6 separate regions of the Homo sapiens genome follow, and all the other regions are linked to region 5. Evidence: promoter capture Hi-C in 16 types of primary human blood cells and fetal thymus (Javierre and others, 2016). All regions are on one chromosome and are shown on one strand. Each heading gives the region's core, a stretch centred on a gene start or on the middle of the fragment in contact. The rest is flanking DNA. Distances are from core to core; before and after follow the strand shown. Region 1 overlaps TTLL7 (tubulin tyrosine ligase like 7). Region 2 holds the start of TTLL7 (tubulin tyrosine ligase like 7). Region 3 has its middle 65 kb from the start of SSX2IP. Region 4 has its middle 84 kb from the start of SSX2IP. Region 5 holds the start of SAMD13 (sterile alpha motif domain containing 13). Region 6 has its middle 2.6 kb from the start of SSX2IP.

Region 1 (3,242 bases), core at 321-2,820, 380 kb before region 5:
AGAGATATACTGCACCTTTGGTCCTCGAGTCTTGGTAGTTTTTCCCATCAACTTTTCATCATCAATTTCACATTGCTCCAGAAGATCCAAAATATCTTCTTCCTTCAAAAAATATTCTAATTAAAATTACAACCACTAATGGACTCTAGAATTTTTCCAAGTTGATTAATCTCCACAAAATAATGCAGAGCAAGGATTCCTGAAATTATTTAGTGAAGATTGCTCAGAAAAAAGGAGAAATATTAAAGGGTCACAGCAAATTCTCTTGAAACTTTCACTAAAATCTGGCATTATAATTAATACATAGCCAAAATCTATTCTGTATTAATTATCCTAAACAAATGTATCTTTATAGTACAGTATAGTATTAAAATCTTAGAGTATAATACTTCAATAAATTAGCCCATTGGACACTAAAATTTCTGGAAAGTTCATGCTGTTTTCCAGATTTCAAGTTTATGAATCATTTCTATACAGATTAGTGCAAAATGATATTAAACCTCCAGACAGAAAACTGATAATTGGACTAACAGTTTCACTTAGAAACATTCTAATGTGAGTATTTGCTGACTGGGCACTATTTAATGAAACTCTTTCAAAATTTTAATGATTGCACAAAGTATTTTTAGAACTTTATAAAGGTTTTCATTCTATAGTCATCAAAGGTAGCAAAAAGCCACAAGTGCCCTAACACCTTTCCTGCGTTCTACTAGAGTCATATTCTGAATCAAAAGGAAATTTTGTAAAAGCATATACCCCAGTGGATATTAGGCAAGCCAGGACAATACGAGTATAATAGCTACACTGAAAGAGGTATAATCAACTGTATCATTTAGTTATTTAAGAAAGGATTCTAGAAAAGGTTTTTGAAGAAACTAGAAATCTCACTGTGCAGTAGAAATGTGTAAAGTAAGTTACTCTTTGTCCCAATCTAAGGAAATTTAGCTATTGAAATCCCAAAATACTCTTATTATACATTTTTTATTAAATAATAATCTTACAATGAATTCCATGGATAGCAGTACAATATAGCCAAAAAGAAACTCAAGGAGTTCTGCTTCTGTTTAGGAGAAATATAACAGATAATACTTTCATCATAACAGCCAGAAAAGGCCAGATAAACTAAACAATCATATTTTCTAAAACATCAGAAAGCTTTACTTTAGGTAAAAAGTAATGTAAAGAAACTAAATTCCAAAGAGGAACAAGTTCTTCCTAGGTGAGCAGAGATGAGTGGCCATTTTCTTCTTTGGGGTCATCTGTCATGTCTGGACATATGTAGGCAGAGATCAAGTCTAAAATAGAGAGCTCCTACTAGGATAAAAAGAATCTTCTTGAAATGCTCCCTTTTAGAATCCTGAGCTACTATATTGAGAGGTCTGACTACCCTGCTGAGAGACTGTGTAGGGAGAAAGAGATACCAGCCAGCTCCCAGATGTTTCAGCTATCTTATCTGACACACCAGACATGTGAGTGAAGCTACCCTGGATTTCTAGCCCCAGTTGGGCATTCAGATACATGCTACTATATGATTCACCCCAGGAAAGACAAGCGGAAGAACCACTCAGCTGTGCCCAGCCACGATTGCAGAGTAATGAGCAAATAAATGAAGTGGTTTGTTATGCTATAATAGAAAACTGCTAGACCTTTTACTATGGTGTACAGATTAGAGTGTGTGTGTGTGTGTGTGTGTGTGTGTGTGTGTTTCATTTACTTCCTCTCATATGCTAGATCTACATAGCATCAAGAAAAAGTATTATGTAATGTTTGTTATAATCCAAAAAATAAAAACGCTACAAACCACTAGGTTAATTCCATGGGTTTCTTTATCCAGTTACATATACACATCTATGTAAGAAGATACGTTATTATAATATATTGATATTACAACATAATATCACAATTCTCTACTCCATAATTTTTCTTGGTAGATATCTTATGAAGTAAGTTGGTTCATCATGAAATGTTACCAACTGTTAAAATAGAAAGCTTGGGGAAAGCATATCTTAAAAGTAAAATGTTTTTATATGTCGGACCAAGGTGGCTTGTCTGTAAAGACATATTGTTTAGCTTTATTCTTTTTTCTCTATATAAACATTCATTCTCTTACCTTCATCCTTTTCAAAGGATTATTCAACTCTCGCTGGAATGAAGCTGCTCTTCCTGAAAGGAAGGTCTGAAAGGCAACAGCTAACAAATTTTCATACTTTTCAAGTAATGCTTTATCTTCAGGAGGATAAATTCGTCTACAACAAAATCAGATAAACCAATTTTTTAAAAAGAAGCTGTCGTAGCTCAATAGTTAACATCAACTCCATAGACAATCCTTGACCATCTATTCTATACCAGTCACATTGCCAGGTATAAGCATTTCTATACTGATTAGTGCAAAATGATATTAAATATTAAACCTCCAGACAGAAAACTGATAACTGGCCTAATAGATTCACTTAGTAACTTTCTAATGTGAGTATTTGCTGACTGGGCACTAATTAATAAAATTCTTTCAAAACTTTAATGATTGCACAAGAGTATTTTTAGAACTTTATGAAGGTTTTCAGTCTATTCATTAATAGTGGCACAAATCCACAAACAAAGTTTATCTAGAGAATTAGCATTAAACAATGCAGTTCCAGAAGGTACAGTATAAGGGTTTAGTTGGGGGGAAATGGTTGGGGAAGAATGGTGATTGGGCAAATTGGAGAAATACTGAACTTTATAGGAGAGTGTTCAGGTAATAAGGGATACTGCAGGAGTGTTTTTACTTAGTGTGGTTACTGAAGTATACAAAAATGTAAGCAGTGGTTCTGATGATCTCTTTTGTAGTGGTGGAATTTGCCTCTCTAGTAGAGAGAAGTGGGTAGAGGTAGAGTGGGAGGAATGTGTTCTTATCACTACTGTTGATGGTGTTAAGGCCATGAAAGAACATCTTACCATGAGTGCAAGAACGCCCTCACACATTCCTTTATCCTGCTCAGGCAATGTCAAAAGTTGGAAAGTGGGCAATCTGTCCAAGAACACAATGAGCTGGGTGGGGTGGGGGGGTTTGAATCTGTCAAGGGTGATATTGTGGAAGGGTTCCAGTTTAACACAGCCCACATCCCTCTCCACTGTCTCATACCTAACTCCTTCAAACATTTTCATTATTTGCCTAGTTCCTGAAAAAGTACAGTAACCACCATGGATTGGCAGGAAGAATACCAAGAGACCTGAATTCTGACTTTTTTTAAAAGACCACATTA
Region 2 (2,917 bases), core at 296-2,795, 300 kb before region 5:
TTTGTTCCTTAGTCTGTAAAATGGAGTTATCACCTGTTATGCAATATCACAGAGTTGTAATGAATCAAGTAACATTATCTTAGTATGGGTTCACCTGTCACCCTATTGTGGGGTGCAGTTCAGTCGCACACCTCATGAACTAAGTAACTATTATTACTGTAAATGTCTCCCTAACATTTAAGACAGAAAAAGATTTCCAGAGTTCTTCTTACGTTTTTAATCGACTTCTCCAACACTTGAGCATCCACCAAATATCACTGCCAAAAATGTGCTGAACATCTCCTGTTATGACCTCACTCTCCTATGTAGTGTTGTTCACATATTTTTTGCCATAAGCTTTCTAAGAAAATAGATTATTTTTCACATGATTCAAAGCATCTTTCTTTCATATTGAAGGAGCAATAATTCCTTATGCAGAAAGTTTACAGGTTGTTGTTGCTGTTGTTTGAGATTACTCCTCAATTAATTAATTCTATGTTTAATATCTAATAGAGCATATATATGTACACTTGGACACACTCCATTAATACAGTGGAAAATCCATGGACTATAGAGTCAGGAAAACCTATATTCGAATTCCTGTTCTGTGACCTTGAGAATGTAATTTAACTTCCCTGCTCCTCAGTTTCCACATTTGGTTCTGGATTATGATGATTTAATAAAATACGATATATAAAAGTAAGTGCCTAGGCTATGAAGGTATTATTTCCTACCTCTCCTAAATCTTTTCTTTCTATGCCAGGATCAATCAAACCCACCCAGAATACAAGGCAACTTTCATAGGGTATCTTTTACATCAGTCGAGGGAACGCTGCGATGTGATATAAGTGGATGATGGCATGAGTCAGGCATCCAACAGAGCAAGATGTGGAGAAAGTGAGAGGTACCTACAAGGGCCCTAGACTTCACTCGCATGTGCGAAAAGGGCATTTTGATACCCTTTCAAGAATGCCCCGCATACTCGCGGAGGCTTATACCACGATGTGGGAAAACGACGGAATTACAGAATAAACCAGCAGGGAGCCTCCTCGTTCACCCAACCCGACCCCGCCCGCCCGAGTCTCCCATCTGGAGCCTAAAAACTGAGCTGAGATCACAGCAACTGACCCCGTCCCCTCCGCCCTCTCCCTCCCCCATTCTGCCCAAACCTCTCAGGGCACGAATGGTGCTGAATCATTTGCACGAACGCAGCAGCTCCCCGTTCCGCGGCTCCCAGCGGGGACGGTGTCCCCAGAGCAGTGACAGTCCGGGGATGGGGGCCCGGAAAGAGGGCCAGGGCGGAGCCTTTGGGGACGTGGGGACATGGAAGGGGGTCGGGGGAGGATGGCGGCAGCAGGTACTCACCCGGGTGAGGAAAGCCCAGCCCGGGTCCTCGCGTCCCCGCTGCAAGCGGTCCCCCAGGTGCTCCCGCGCCTCGCAGCTTCCCCGTGGGCGGCCGCCCCGACTCGGCAGCCTGCACTGGTGGTCCGGTGCTCTCCTCCGCCCGCCCACCGCCCGTGGCAGCCACGGCTCGGGACTCCGGTGCTCGACGCGGAGTGCCTGGAACAGCTGTCGCTGCCCAAGCGGGTGGCGGCTACCGACGGGCCAGACCATTCGCCTGCTGCGGCCGGGGGTGCACGACGTGCCGAGAGGCGCGGGCGCCGGGGGCGGCGACGGTTGGGAGGAACAAAGGACTCGGGGAATCCTCTGCCCCCTCGGAGTCAGGAGGTCCTGGGGACAGGAGGGATCAACGGAGGGGCCGCTGCCTCTTCTGGGGGTTTACTGAAGACACTGCTCGAGCTTTCCCGGGCCACACACACCCCCCCCCCGTTTGCCTTGGTCCCGCTCGGGGCTCCTTTAGAACGCGGCAAACAGAGGACTTAGCAACGCGAGCGCCTGGGCGGCGCCCCTCCTCAGAGATGCGAGAGGCGCTGGCCTGAGCGCCTCCGGCCACCTCCTTCTACCTCCGGGCCCTAGGCGCCCGATCCACCTGCCTATCTGACCACAGACATCTTCCCACAAAACAGTGGAGCTTTTTGAATCTTTGAAGAGAGTCTTCAGATCTTTTATCTAAGCATCTTTGTGAAGCAAAGAATAAACGGGTATCTGAGGCCAGCTCGAAAGTTAGGAAATAAAATCAGGTGGGGCCCCATCCCGTAGATGCTGAGGGACAGCTCTGACCTAGAGTTCCTGCTAAGCAAATGTTGAACCACGGCAGTTGTAAAAAAATGTAGATTTAGGAAGCCATTTCGAGATAAAGATTTACAGAAGATTGTTGCAGAAATTAAAGAATATTCGAGGTTCATTGTTCACCATTTTAGAGTTGCGTGTCTTGAAAACGGGAAGGCAATCATGTCTTCTCATAAAATGAATTGTATAGAACTGGAAGAAGTCCTAACACATGAATTCCTTAGACTTTTGTGGTCCCTGCTTCTGTCACGCTGGGTTCACACAGGTTCATTTCAGAGCATGGTGAAGATCAGGACAAGTGTACAGTTTTCCCTGTAGAAAAAAAGAAAAGATAGAACAGAATTGGCAACTACCTATAAAATGTGATTAAAGGTAGGAAAAAAAAAGGCCCTCCAAGTGCATCCCAAAAAATATAAAATTTCACAATTTAAAGTTTTGTCCTTCGTTGAGTAAATCAACATAAATTCAGCACTTTCTATAGACCACTGTGCTGAGAATAGTCTCATTTTCATTTCTTCATTTATTCTTCTAAAAACTCCTGTGAGATTGGTAACCTGCAATAGACCTCCATACAGCCTTGCCAGCATTGGGAACTGATCTGGTCAGTGAGGGCATCTTCTCATAAAGGACACTGGTGAGAAACTGGGCTCAGGGTTTGTCGTGCTGGGTTAGTCTCACGATCATAAGCGGCAGAGCAGACATTGCCACCTGGAGTTTTTGACTTGTTCCTTTCCCCTAGAATGCCTCT
Region 3 (2,873 bases), core at 28-2,527, 450 kb after region 5:
CCACAAACTGTTCACCAGCCTATCCCCAGAGACTCGCATGGTTTCTGGCACATGGCAGACACTATAAATACATTTTGAATAAATGCATGTTAGGGCGGCTCACAGAAAGCATCTACTTGAAAGGGAGGACATCTCACCAGCGGGGGACAGCGCTGCAGAACCCAGCAGCGGAACAACAGCGACACCAAGTGGCCAGTCCGCATTACCCACAGCAGCTGTTCCTTGCCAGAAATCTCAGGCCTTGGAAGGCTGATGCTTGTAATTTAATGTGGATACTAATCCATTAAGCTTGTTTATTCATTTCCTTAATTTAAAAAAAATCTAGAAACTGCCCTCAAATATCTCCCACTATAGAGTAGGACACTTGAAAGCATGTGGCCACTAGCTAGACAGACTTTAGGAGTTGCTATGGTAACTTTTCCCTTTTTTGCTAACCATTTGGAAACCTTACATTTTTCAAATCTGCATGCTTTGAAAAGGCCTGCTTGATTCTACTTTGTTTTTCAAGCTTTGCTTTGATTTACTGTATTTAATTTGCTTCACCTTCTAATTTGTTAAATGACATGTTATTAAAATTCCCCAGGGGGCCAGCAGGAATCTGTGCCGCTGAGAGACAGCATGCATTCTGGAAGTCGGTGATTCACATCTGAGCACTCAGAGGAGATTTTGGAAACCCATTAGGTTAGCAGAGCCGCTCTGGGCAGAATCAGCGCTGGCAGGGACGCTGCATTTGACAACTCAAGTCTTTAGGTGATGCTGAAAAGCCTGCCCTAGCTTCTCATTTCCTCCGTCCCCCAGCGAATCGTTCTTTGCTGCTGCTGTCCTCGGTGTGAAAAGGTGACCCCCCCACTGCCCATCGCACCTGCTTGCTATCTCTCGTCGGTCACCCCCTACAAGACCGGAAAACAGGTCTAAAAAAGCCAGAGCGTTCCGCGCTCAATTACAATGACGCTAAAATGCATCCTGAGGCCTGTCCATCGCGGATTTGAGAAGAGCCGCAGCAGCAGAACACGCCATTAGGCGATAATGGCCCGGGCCCGCTTCAGTCATAGGGCCGGGAAATGAGGGTGATTTAGTGACGCTGCCAATGCCCGACACCATCGCCGCGGTAGGCAAATGGCAGCAAATGGAGGTGTTAAGTAAAGGAAGTGCAGACAAACCATGGTTGCAGAAAGGCTCCTAATATTGATAGAGCTAACCCAGGAGGAAAGCTGGGGTAAAATTTCTTTACATTGCGAGAAAAAATAGATCCCAGCGCTCTCCTAAACATTATTATTTGCTTTAGGGTCCATCTTGTCCTTCATATGAAAATGGAGACAATTTCTCTCAGCGAAGACCGAAGCCCCGGTGCCCATTTTGCTAGCGGCATGTGCTTCCACTCCACTCCGCACCCCGCTCATTTTATTTTTAAAAAATAATAAATATGTGTTCATTGTTTAATCAGATGCATGTCCCTTATGTAAGAAAAAAGGTCATATGACAGGGAACTGTGAAAGTATGAAAGTGAAAGTCGTGTGTGTGTGTGAAATACACATACACATTTATAAATATATGTGTATATATACATCTGTACACATACATGTATACAATTTAGGCGTAAAATTCCACTTAATGATGCAATTATCTCGTGCTATTTCTGGAGTGCAGTCTTGACTGTTCTTTCGACTTTGGTCCAGTTTGAGTCTCAGGCACACAACTTTTTGGTCTGTACCGCTTTGGCCTGTCCCAGAATCTGACCTCCTCCCACCCCCGCAGCACCTTCCGCTGGCCTCCCTACACCTCATCCCCTGGGCTCTGCCTGTTGGATCTGTGCATCGCGAATGGGCTGTCTGGATTTTCTTCATTCCTGCCGCCCTTTGGTTTTCTTGAAAAGCACAGCTTTGACAGTGACCACATGCTCCCAAAATCATTTCACCCGAGGAAAATCCACCCCTTCTTTTACCCCACCCACTGTCACAAAAGTCTCCAGCAGCTTCCATGATGTCTCCTTATCTTTGGGTGGGACACAAAATTCCTAGTGTGTCTTCCACCCGCAAACTCTTTTGGCCAAGCTTCTTGTCATCTTGCTGCCTTAACACTTGGGCTTGGCTCTTCCAGCCCTAGGGTTTCACAAATTTGGTTAAGTCCAGAGCACATTCATGTGTACGTATGCAATCTATCTGGTTGGCGTTTTGTGTTTATTACATGACGATGGTCATTTTCCTCGAGAATAAGGAAGAAATGGACCATCGTTGCAAAGCTTGCACAGTAGCTTCACAATGAAATTATTTTGCCATTTGCTTCTAAGTAGAATTGTAATGTTGGCTTCTAGGTGCACCTCCCACTTCCTCCTTCATTTTTACCTATAATTTCTTTAGCATCGATTGAGAAAGTGTTTATTCAGGGCATAACCCTGTGATAGGTACTGTGAGCGATATGAAAAAAGCCATGGGGCCAACTCTTTTAAAAAGGTGTTAATTGGATTTTTCCCATATAAAACCCCCCATAGCATTTTATTTCCTAACTCTGCTTCTCACCGTCAACTTCATTTGCCTATTTAATGCAATTTGCTTCTCATGATAAGATTCTATTAAGTGATTATTAAGACATTCTGAGTTACCTCAGCCAAGTACATCTATAATCATTACCTACCTCCTGGGGGTGATTTGAGGTGTAATTAGTTAAAGCTCACTGTTACCTCCCAACATCTGAACGACAAACAGAGACCACTTCTACACAGCCAGTCTGTGAGCCTGGTGCAGCCTGTTCACATTTACATAAATCCCATAGATCCAGGTTTCACGAGAGCCCATGTTGGGTCTGTAGAAATAGAGAGCATACTGAAAATTGCCTACCTCTATTTATATCAAATTGTACCCCTGAGGGTTAATTTC
Region 4 (2,897 bases), core at 116-2,615, 470 kb after region 5:
TCTGTTACACACTGATCCTTAACGCTTTCAGCTGCTCCCTGGTTAACAGTCATTAGGCAGGCATGCAGCACTGTCATCCTGGGCCTCAGCCCTGCTGTCAGAACCCTCCTCCAGATACCTGAAGCAAAAAGAGGCAGGGGACCCCTTAGGTGTACTGCTGATTTGGAGAAATCCTTCATCCGACGGAAGGTCTTTCTAGGTTCCTCCCCTGACACTCCTATCTAAATAAAAACTACTTCTGAAGCCTGCATGACCCTTAGAGTTGGAATCATCTGAGCTGTGGAGCACTTACCCAACATATCCTGGGATTTGTCAAATGTTGCCGGTGATTCCAGAATTGCAGCTGACTACCTAATAGCAGACATCATGTCACTCCGCTCATGGTGACTGCTGTTAATCTGGATCTGGAAGTTCCATGTCGTTTGCTTTTGGCTTCTATGTCCTGGCGAGGCAAGTACAGGCAGCACTGTTGGTGCCCATTGTACGGGCAAGAAAACCAAGGTTTGAAAACAGGTTCGGTGACTCCCCACATAACCAAAGGGAGTGGTGGAGTTACAATAACATGAAGGAACTCTGACTCCCTTGTCCAATCACGCAGGGTTTAGTCATTTGTTTTTATGATCTCAATGAGGGGCCTTTGGCTCATAGTTCATTAATTTTCATCACAAACACTATTGAAAACCATTAATTGCCTGTGCTTTAAATAGCAGTGTGGAGTTTTTTCCTTGCCTAGCAAGACAATGGGTGTCAGTGGGTAGAAGGAGCACTGGGCTGGGGACCAAAAATCCTGGACTCTTGTTTGACAAGGTCACCACCAAACTGAGGGGCCTGGGAAGTCACAACCACTGAGGCCTCCCTCTCCCCATCTAGGAAGCGAAGAGGGCAGGAGTAAGGTACCTTCCCTCCCAGAACTCCATATGTGAAAGAAAGGGCATTTCTGATTTAGGGTATGTTTCACTTTCTCTAACCTTGGATCTGTCCCAGTAAAATGATTAAGCGAGGATATCTGTCTTTGCCAAAGTATGACTTACCTGGTCAGTCCAGATTGTTCAGGTGGGCTTATTGCTTTCTTGATTTGTAACCTTTTGTTTTCCAGTGACCTGGACTGTTTTTGGTATAGAATTTCATTCCCAGGTGATAAATTCCTTTAGGGAAGTGATAGCAAACAGGTTTAATCTTGAGGGCCCTTCAAATCAGTGAGCAGTGGCTGTCGGGAGCTCTGTGTTAATGTCTCTGAGGCCATGCTGTAAGGCGCCATGGGAACATGATTGATTAGCCATGTCTGCTGTGGGCAGGGGCTGGGGAATGCAGAGGGGAAGGGCTGTATCTGGGATAGCACTGTGGAATTGGAGCAAGGGAAGCCATGCCGAGTGAAAAGGCACAGAGCTGCTTAGAAGCAGAGCAGGGATAGGAATCCACACCTCCTCCCTTCCAATTCAGTGGCCTCCCACACAAGACTTCCTCTTTATTTGGTGTGATGGGCAATCAGGTGCTTAGAAGATACTTTCCGATGATGAGGATGAAACTGATGGTCTGGCAGCAGCTTTCTGCCTGCTCTCTCAGCAATGTGTAAACCCACACATGTGTTTTTCCCTTTCTGAGACACAGAAAGGCTCAACCTTTGACAAGAGATTGTCCAGGAAACATCAGTAAACACACCAAATGCCTACATTCCCATTAAAACATGCCTATCTCCTTCTAGGCAGTTCCAAGCGAGACTTCTAAGAGGTCTGCCTTGCACAACTCACAGGCAGCAGCTGTGAGGAGGAGAGGTGCACCCCAGGCTGTGGGTGGGAGGACAGAGGGAATGGGGAGGCAGGAACAATGGACCAGCCTCCTTGGCCTCACAGGAGGCGTCTGAATGAACGATGATGGCTCTTGGCCTTCCAAATGGCAAAGACACATTCCCAGAGAGGCCGGCTGTGGAGGGCTCCTGCCCAGATGGACTCGCTGTACTGTGAAGGAGCATTCTGTGTTCCCTAACTGGCAGCGGCTGCCCAGCCCATCAGCTTGCCTGACTGCACACCAAGGGCCCTGACGGCTTTCTCATGGGGCACCCCGGGGCTTCTGCCCCAAGCAGATGCTGGGCTTTATGTTCCCACAGAGAAGGCTTGCCCGTGGCGGTCCATCCATCTTCCTCTCCTTCATCTGAGAGGCAGTGTGGCCTGCCCTGAGGGTCTGCAGGGAGCGCTCTCACCAGGCCTGGGAGGATGCTGCCAGGGAGGAGAGTGCCCTGGAGCCTGAATGCCTCTTTTGTTTGCAATGAAATAAAATCTGCCCTTTTAAAAAGCATCCACGCTGCCAAAATCCCAGGTAAAGGGGGTGTGGTTGACTTGCTGCTAGGGAGGAATTCCTTAAGCTCTGCAGGCTATACACCCTCCACAGGAAAGGCCTGGGCCTGGCTGTTGATGATGATGGGATTTCTCCCCCAACACATGCACCTCCCTTGGCTGGCAGGCAACTCAGGAGTGAGGAATGACCAAAGCCAATTCCCAGAGCAGCGGAGGAGCACGGTTCACCTTCCAGTCAGTGCCTCAGGGCAAGCCCTTTCCATCCTCTCCATAGCGCCACCTCTCAGCGGGAGAAATGCTTGGTTCACACACAGGGTCCACCCTGCTCCCACCTGGCTCTTTGAGCTAACGAAGTATCACCCTTTACAGGTCCTGGTTCTGATGCACCAAGATGTCTGATAATAATAAAAAAAAAAAGCCCAGTAGTTACTCACACTCCAAGGTGCCTGGGCTTTCTTCTGGGAGGTTGCTCCCTTCTTTGCGGCCATCACCACACATTCCTCTAGTAAGGAAACCCCAAGAGGCCGGATGTCTGCAGCACATGAGCTGTGTGTATTCCCACACCATGATTATTGCCAAGAGGTTAGAAACTGAACATGATTTGGG
Region 5 (3,023 bases), core at 252-2,751:
TCAGCACTGGTGAAAGATCCACATGCCTGACCCATGCTCAAAAAATACTGCTCAAAAATATTTAATTGGTTCCTAGATTACTATTGTTTGCCTTTTCAAGGGAGCAATGGCAAATATTTGAAATCTTTCTTGGCACTGATCTTCAAGGAAGTCAAAAATTTCTAATATAATTCCTGGAATAAGTAAAGAACAAATTTTTTGACCTTGAAATTCAGGTTCCAAATTTAGATCAAAGGTAATCTCCTAATGTCCTAAAAGATTATTTTTAAAAAGGGAAGCAGGCAGCTTTTTCCTCAGATTCTACCTGAATTCTACAGGATATTACAGCAAGTGATAACTTTTTCCAGGATCTTTCTGGGGAACCTGTGTTCTGTGCCCTGTCTTGAGTGGTTTTGTTGACCATCTTGACCTAAAAGTGTCCAAATGTTGATTGATGTTTATTTCAATGAAGAGGCAACCATGTATGTTTTCTGTGTATGTGCAGAACATTAATGGGATGAGATTATTCTCCTGGAAAAGTGGTTTAAGCCAAGCAAGGGAACTGTGAGAATGACCAGGGTAACTTAAACAAAAGATCTTGCCCAGCCTCTCTGCTCCACCTCCCAGTTTTCTGATTTGGTATTTAGGATGATGGCGGGAGAGACTATGAATTTTGGGGTGGGCATAATGTCTTTCTATTCATATGTAACTAATATAGTACCGGGTACTCATAGATTGTAAGTGTTGGTTAAATTTCTTGAATTATGCTTTTTGTCCAACTGGGATAAACAGTTAAAATTAAACCTCCCAGAACTAATTGTTTTCGTTTTGTAGAATAAGGTTTTGTTTGTTTCAGTTTGAATTTTTGCTGGCTTCATTTGGCAGGATAAATGCCAAAATAAAAGAATGTGGGCGTTTTCAGGAGATCTGGTCATCTATTTTGCATCCTTTCCGAAATATGTTACTTCCTGCATAATGAAGTAAAAGGATTTGCTGCTGGGCAGTGCTTTCCTTATTCTCACAAAGAGATTACTTAAAAGCCAGCCCTGGGAACTTTGTCCATGAATCTCTATTAGGAAAAAAAGAGTAACATGGGACTGCAGCTTCCGAGTGTTCTCTGGTTATAGCCCATAAGCACTGGCTTCTCACTCTTATTTTTCCCTCTGGGGAGAAAAGGAAATAGTTTGAAACATGACATTCATGCTCAGAACAACAGCTAAGACCTATCATGCAGCAACAATGAAGGGGAGGGAGAAAATAAGAAGCTATTGAGACAGCTTGTTTTTCTTTGTACAAGACAGGTGCAGGGAGAATTCTGCAGGTTTTGGACTCCTTACTCATTTCTTGCACTAATTGTGCTGAAGGTAGTTAGCAAAAGTGAACAGGCACACTGTAGCTTTAAAAAGTCAGCCATGAACCAGAAGGCAGTTGGTGCAGCTTGTGTGTGATTCCTAACGTCATGTTGGCTGAGAGCCAGCCTGGTTTTATTTCACTGTGTCAAATTGTACCTCCTTATTGAATTCCTTTGCCAGCCTACTTTGTGAAAGAAAACATTGGGGTTTCTTTGGCTGTTCTTGATAAGCCTATAAAAAATGATATTTTTTAGTTGCTTATAGGTAGGTTTTCTTTTTACTCTTCCACAGAAAAGAAAATAATAGTAATAATAATAAGACAATGTAGTGTGGTGTTGCAGAGTATCATTGTGAGTGTTTTGTTTTGTTTTCTGAGATGCTTAGAAAATGGTGAATGTGTAACAGTTTCCAACTGAAGTGAAATCATATTCTGTTAGCATGGAGCAGCAGCACTATCTTCCTGTCTACTCTCTAACGGTGTGTGAATGTATGCTAATATCTATATATATATATTAAATGTTGGATTTCTCTATCAATGATCTAAGTGGTTTGCAGCTGGAAGTTTGTGTGTATGTGTGTGTTTCAGGAGTGAAAATTATCCCACACTTACAGTGTTATTTGTTAATCATCTACTTCTCTAACAGTGATAAAATCTTGCGAATATACTAAATGATGCACTTGCCATGTCAGAGTAATCCCTAGAGAAGGAGTGCCGAAGTATAAAGTGATTTGAGTGGAAATGTATTTAATTTATGGCTTCAGCTGAATAAGAGCAAACACGTTTCGGGACTGTTTCTTCCTTTTTTTTTTTTTTTTTTCTTAAAGCAGTTTTGTTCGTAGCTTTTTCATTTTGCTAATTGCATATTAATTGTGGAAGGCTTTTAATTTTCCACAGCCCTCATCCTACTAAACAAAAAGACAGAGTGATGGATGCTACAATATCTCCTTAAATGTTTTGATGATTTTTCATAAATCTAATGAGTTACCTACTCTTTCTTACACATACACACACACACACACACACACACACACACACACACCAGCACCACCTTTCTGTGCTAAGGGCTATCTGGCATTTTTTGTGAGCTTCCTGCTTTACCACAGCATGGCCATCTCACAGACGGGTTTTTGAGGCTTTCGTTGAGAATGTGAGGTAGGGGAATACTTGCTGACAAAAGCTTTAAGTGTCCTTCTGCATTGCAATGAAAAAATCTAGGAGCAAGGGGGAGTGGACAAAAAAAAAACCAAACACAATAAGAAAAAACAAATCAAAGCCCATAATGGGAGGGGGGCAGGAAAAGGGGGATTGTTTTTCTCTACTTTGACTCATTTATGAGTTGCAGTGTCTTAAGTGAGAGCTAGGCACCCAGAAGAAGCTGTGCCAGTTCACACAGCACTTGTTTTCAACGAGGATTCAATTTCATTTGCAAATGCTTATTGTCAAGGCAGGGAGTGCCAGTACAGATGAAAGCACCCCAATCCGTCTCCTCCAGTTCTTTAGGTTTAATCACATCTCTCCAATCGCCGAGGGAACTGGAGATTTAAACAAACATACGTGAACTGGTGTGAAGCTGTAAAAGGGACCATTATGTTTCCGATTCAGAATATATATTCTTCTCTCACTTTCTAAGAATTAAACACAAGCTTTTCTCCCTTATTGATTAGTTGCTGAAGTAAAGGAACCCTGCAGCC
Region 6 (2,903 bases), core at 238-2,737, 390 kb after region 5:
TTTGGCCAAGCAATCAGAGGCCCGTCTAGCTGCTGTTGAGCCCAGGTGGCGTTACCATTAACAGTTACATTTTTAAAAGGTTTGAACCAAGCTTAGTTGAGCTCTGGGAAGTTTAGCTCTGACCTCAGCAACCCCGGGAAAGGAATAAGATCTGCCTGAATAAACCAGCGGTCTCAATCTTTTGGTCTCAAGACCGCTTTCCACTTGTAAAATTATTGAGAGCCCCAAGAACTTTTCTTTATGTTGGTTACAGCTATTAATATTAAAACAGAAATTTAAAAATTGCTATTTTTTAAAATAATAATGAATAAAAATAAAAATGTCAAATAGCGCATTTTAATTAAAAATAACTATTTTCAAAAAATTAGTTAAAAGAATGGTGTTACTTTAAAATTTTGCCCATATCTTTAATGTCTTGCTTAATAGAAGGCATTTGGATTTTCATATCTGTTTGTGCATTCGATCTGTTGTGCTATTTCAGGTAGCGTCTGGAAAACTCTACTGTGCACTCATAATGAGAGGGAAAAAGGCAAATAATATCTTAGTATTATAACAAAAATAGTTTTGACTTTGCAGACTCCCTGGAAGGGTCTTGGAAACTTGCCGCCCCAAGGTTCAGCAGATCTTTGAAAACCACTGGTCTAAACCTCTTTGTACTCTGTCCCTCTTTGTTAACCAATAACTGGTTAAGGGGCTAAAAATATGACCTAATTCTGCTCAGTCCATAATGGGGAGTGGGGGATGAGGAGCTTCAGGGGAAGGATTTTATCCTGACAGACTAAGGACAAGTTTTTTCCTTCTTGCCTTGGACATCCTCCAGTAAGCCAGACATGTTTGGAGCTGTGGCAGCATATTCTGCAACCACGAGAGAAAAGCAAGAAAAATACATGCGTACCTCGTTTTATACTTCAATTTATTGCACTTTACAGGCACTGTATTTTTTTTTAATAAAGGTTTGTTGCTCAACCCTGCATTGAGCAAGTCTAGTGGCACCATTTTTTCTAAGAGCATGTGTTCACTTGGTGTCTCTGTCACATTTCGGTAATTTTTGAAATATTTCAGACTTTTCCATTAAATATGTTACGGTGATCTGTGATGTCACTATTGTATTATTTTGGGGGTGCCGCAAACTGCACCCTTATAAGACAGCCAATTCAATGTATATGTTGACTGCTCCACTGACTGGCTGATCATCTCTCTCCCTCTCCTTGGGCCTCCCTACTCCCTAAGACACAGCAATATTAAAATTAGGCCAATAAATAACCCTACAATGGCCTCTAAGTGTTCAAATGAAGGGAAGAGTCACATATCTCTCACTTTAAATCAAACGCTAGAAATGATTAAGCTTAGTGAGGAAGGCATCTTGAAAGCTGAGATAGGCAGAAAGCTAGACCTATTGTTCCAGTTAGCCAAGTTATAAATGCACAGAAAAAGTTCTTGAAGGAAATTAAAAGTCCTCCTCCCTTGAACACAGGCATGAAAAGAAAGTGAAACTGCCTTATTGCTGATAAGTAGAAAGTTTGAGTGGTCTGGATAAGAGATCAAACCAGCCACAGCATTCCTTTAAGCAAAAGCCTATCCAGAGCAAGGCCCTAATTCTTCATTTCTATGAAGGCTGAGAGAAATGAGGAAGCTTCATTTAAAAAGTTTGAGGCTAGCAGAGTTTGGTTCATGAGGTTTAAGGAAAGAAGCCATCTCCGTCACATGAAAGTGCCAAGTGAAGCAGCAAGTGCCGCTGTAGAAGCTGCAGCAATTTATCTAGAAGATCTGATTGATGAAGGTGGCTACACTAAACAGATTTTCAGTGTAGACCAAAAGAAAGCCTTCTATTAGAAGAATATGCCACATAGAACTTTTCTAGCTAAAGAGGAGAAGTCCCTGCCTGGCTTCAAAGGACAGGCTGACTCTTGTTAGGGGCTAATGCAACTGCTGACTTTTTATTTTTATTTTTTATTTTTTGACACAGGGTCTCAATGTGTTGCTCAGGCTGAAGTGCAGTGGTGCGATCACGGCTCACTGCAGCCTCAAGTGATCCTCAAGCAATCCTCCCACCTTAGCCTCCCAAGTAGCTGGGGCTACAGGCACACACCACCATGCCCAGCTAATTTTTGTATTTTTTGTAGAGACAGGGTTTTACCATGTTGCCCAGGCTGGTCTCAAACTCCTGAGCTCAAATGCTCCACCTCCCTCAGCCTCCCAAAGTGCTGTAAGCCACTATGCCCGGCTCCAGCTACTGACTTTAAGTTGGAGGTAATGCTCATTTGCCATTCCAAAGATCCTAGGGCCCTTAAGAAATATCTAAATTGACTTTGCCTGTGTTCTATCAATGGAACAACAAGGCCTGGCTGACAGCACATCTGTTCACAGCATGGTTAGTGAATATTTTAAGTCCACTGTTGAGACCTATGACTCAGAAAAAAAGATTACTTTCAAAATCTCACTGCTCATTAATAATGCACCTGGTTACCCAAGAGCTTTGCCTGCTAACACAAGATCTATTCTGCAGCCCATGGATAAAGGAGTAATTTTGGCTTTTAAGTCTTATTTGAGAAATACATTTCATAAGGCTGTATCTTCCATAGATAGTGATTCCTCTGATGGAACTGGGCAAAGTAAATTGAAAACCTGGAAAGGATTCACCATTCTAGATGCCATTGAGAACATTCATGGGCACGGAAGGAGGTCAAAATATATCAACATTAAGAGGAGTTTGGAAGAAGTTGATTAAAACCCTCATATATGACTTTGAGGCGTTCAAGACTTCAGTGGAAGAAGTAACTGGAGATGTGGTAGACATAGCAATAAAACTAGAACTAGAAGTGGAGCCTGAAGATGTGACTGAATTGCTTCAATCTCAGGATAAAACTGGAACAGATGAAGAGCTACTTCTTATGGATGAACAA

What was found. The method cuts DNA at HindIII sites, captures the fragments that hold promoters and counts their contacts. A CHiCAGO score of 5 or more calls a contact.
Region 1: a contact is called between a fragment that was not itself captured here and the fragment with the promoter of SAMD13 in region 5, in 1 of 17 cell types (erythroblasts). The highest score is 6.9, in erythroblasts.
Region 2: the fragment with the promoter of TTLL7 here is called in contact with the fragment with the promoter of SAMD13 in region 5 in 1 of 17 cell types (erythroblasts); the score reaches 5.3 in erythroblasts.
Region 3: a fragment that was not itself captured here is called in contact with the fragment with the promoter of SAMD13 in region 5 in 7 of 17 cell types (fetal thymus, M1 macrophages, M2 macrophages and 4 more); the score reaches 9.4 in fetal thymus.
Region 4: a contact is called between a fragment that was not itself captured here and the fragment with the promoter of SAMD13 in region 5, in 4 of 17 cell types (fetal thymus, M2 macrophages, M0 macrophages and 1 more). The highest score is 7.5, in fetal thymus.
Region 6: a fragment that was not itself captured here is called in contact with the fragment with the promoter of SAMD13 in region 5 in 1 of 17 cell types (fetal thymus); the score reaches 6.3 in fetal thymus.

Annotation. Positions count from the first base shown.
Region 1 is chr1:83,917,589-83,920,830 of GRCh38, forward strand. TTLL7 (tubulin tyrosine ligase like 7) reads right to left here. Exons shown (of 21, transcript NM_024686.6): 13 at 2,111-2,246; 14 at 16-102. Among named protein-coding and RNA genes, the nearest start is that of LINC01725, 58 kb to the left of the region's middle. The HindIII fragment of the contact is 834 bases long and covers 1,154-1,987 here.
Region 2 is chr1:83,997,587-84,000,503 of GRCh38, forward strand. TTLL7 (tubulin tyrosine ligase like 7) reads right to left here and starts at 1,546. Exons shown (of 21, transcript NM_024686.6): 1 at 1,345-1,546. LOC124904205 (a long non-coding RNA gene) reads left to right here and starts at 1,702. Exons shown (of 2, transcript XR_007066195.1): 1 at 1,702-2,120. RefSeq lists silencers at 1,206-1,335, 1,346-1,445. The HindIII fragment of the contact is 3,041 bases long and covers 335-2,917 here.
Region 3 is chr1:84,753,548-84,756,420 of GRCh38, forward strand. No RefSeq gene overlaps it. Among named protein-coding and RNA genes, the nearest start is that of SSX2IP, 65 kb to the left of the region's middle. RefSeq lists a silencer at 98-147. The HindIII fragment of the contact is 1,543 bases long and covers 507-2,049 here.
Region 4 is chr1:84,772,842-84,775,738 of GRCh38, forward strand. No RefSeq gene overlaps it. Among named protein-coding and RNA genes, the nearest start is that of SSX2IP, 84 kb to the left of the region's middle. RefSeq lists an enhancer at 2,019-2,518. The HindIII fragment of the contact is 3,509 bases long and covers 1-2,897 here.
Region 5 is chr1:84,300,207-84,303,229 of GRCh38, forward strand. It overlaps SAMD13 (sterile alpha motif domain containing 13), which reads left to right and starts at 1,502. Exons shown (of 4, transcript NM_001134663.2): 1 at 1,502-1,595; 2 at 2,997-3,023. The HindIII fragment of the contact is 6,789 bases long and covers 1-2,507 here.
Region 6 is chr1:84,691,622-84,694,524 of GRCh38, forward strand. No RefSeq gene overlaps it. Among named protein-coding and RNA genes, the nearest start is that of SSX2IP, 2.6 kb to the left of the region's middle. The HindIII fragment of the contact is 288 bases long and covers 1,344-1,631 here.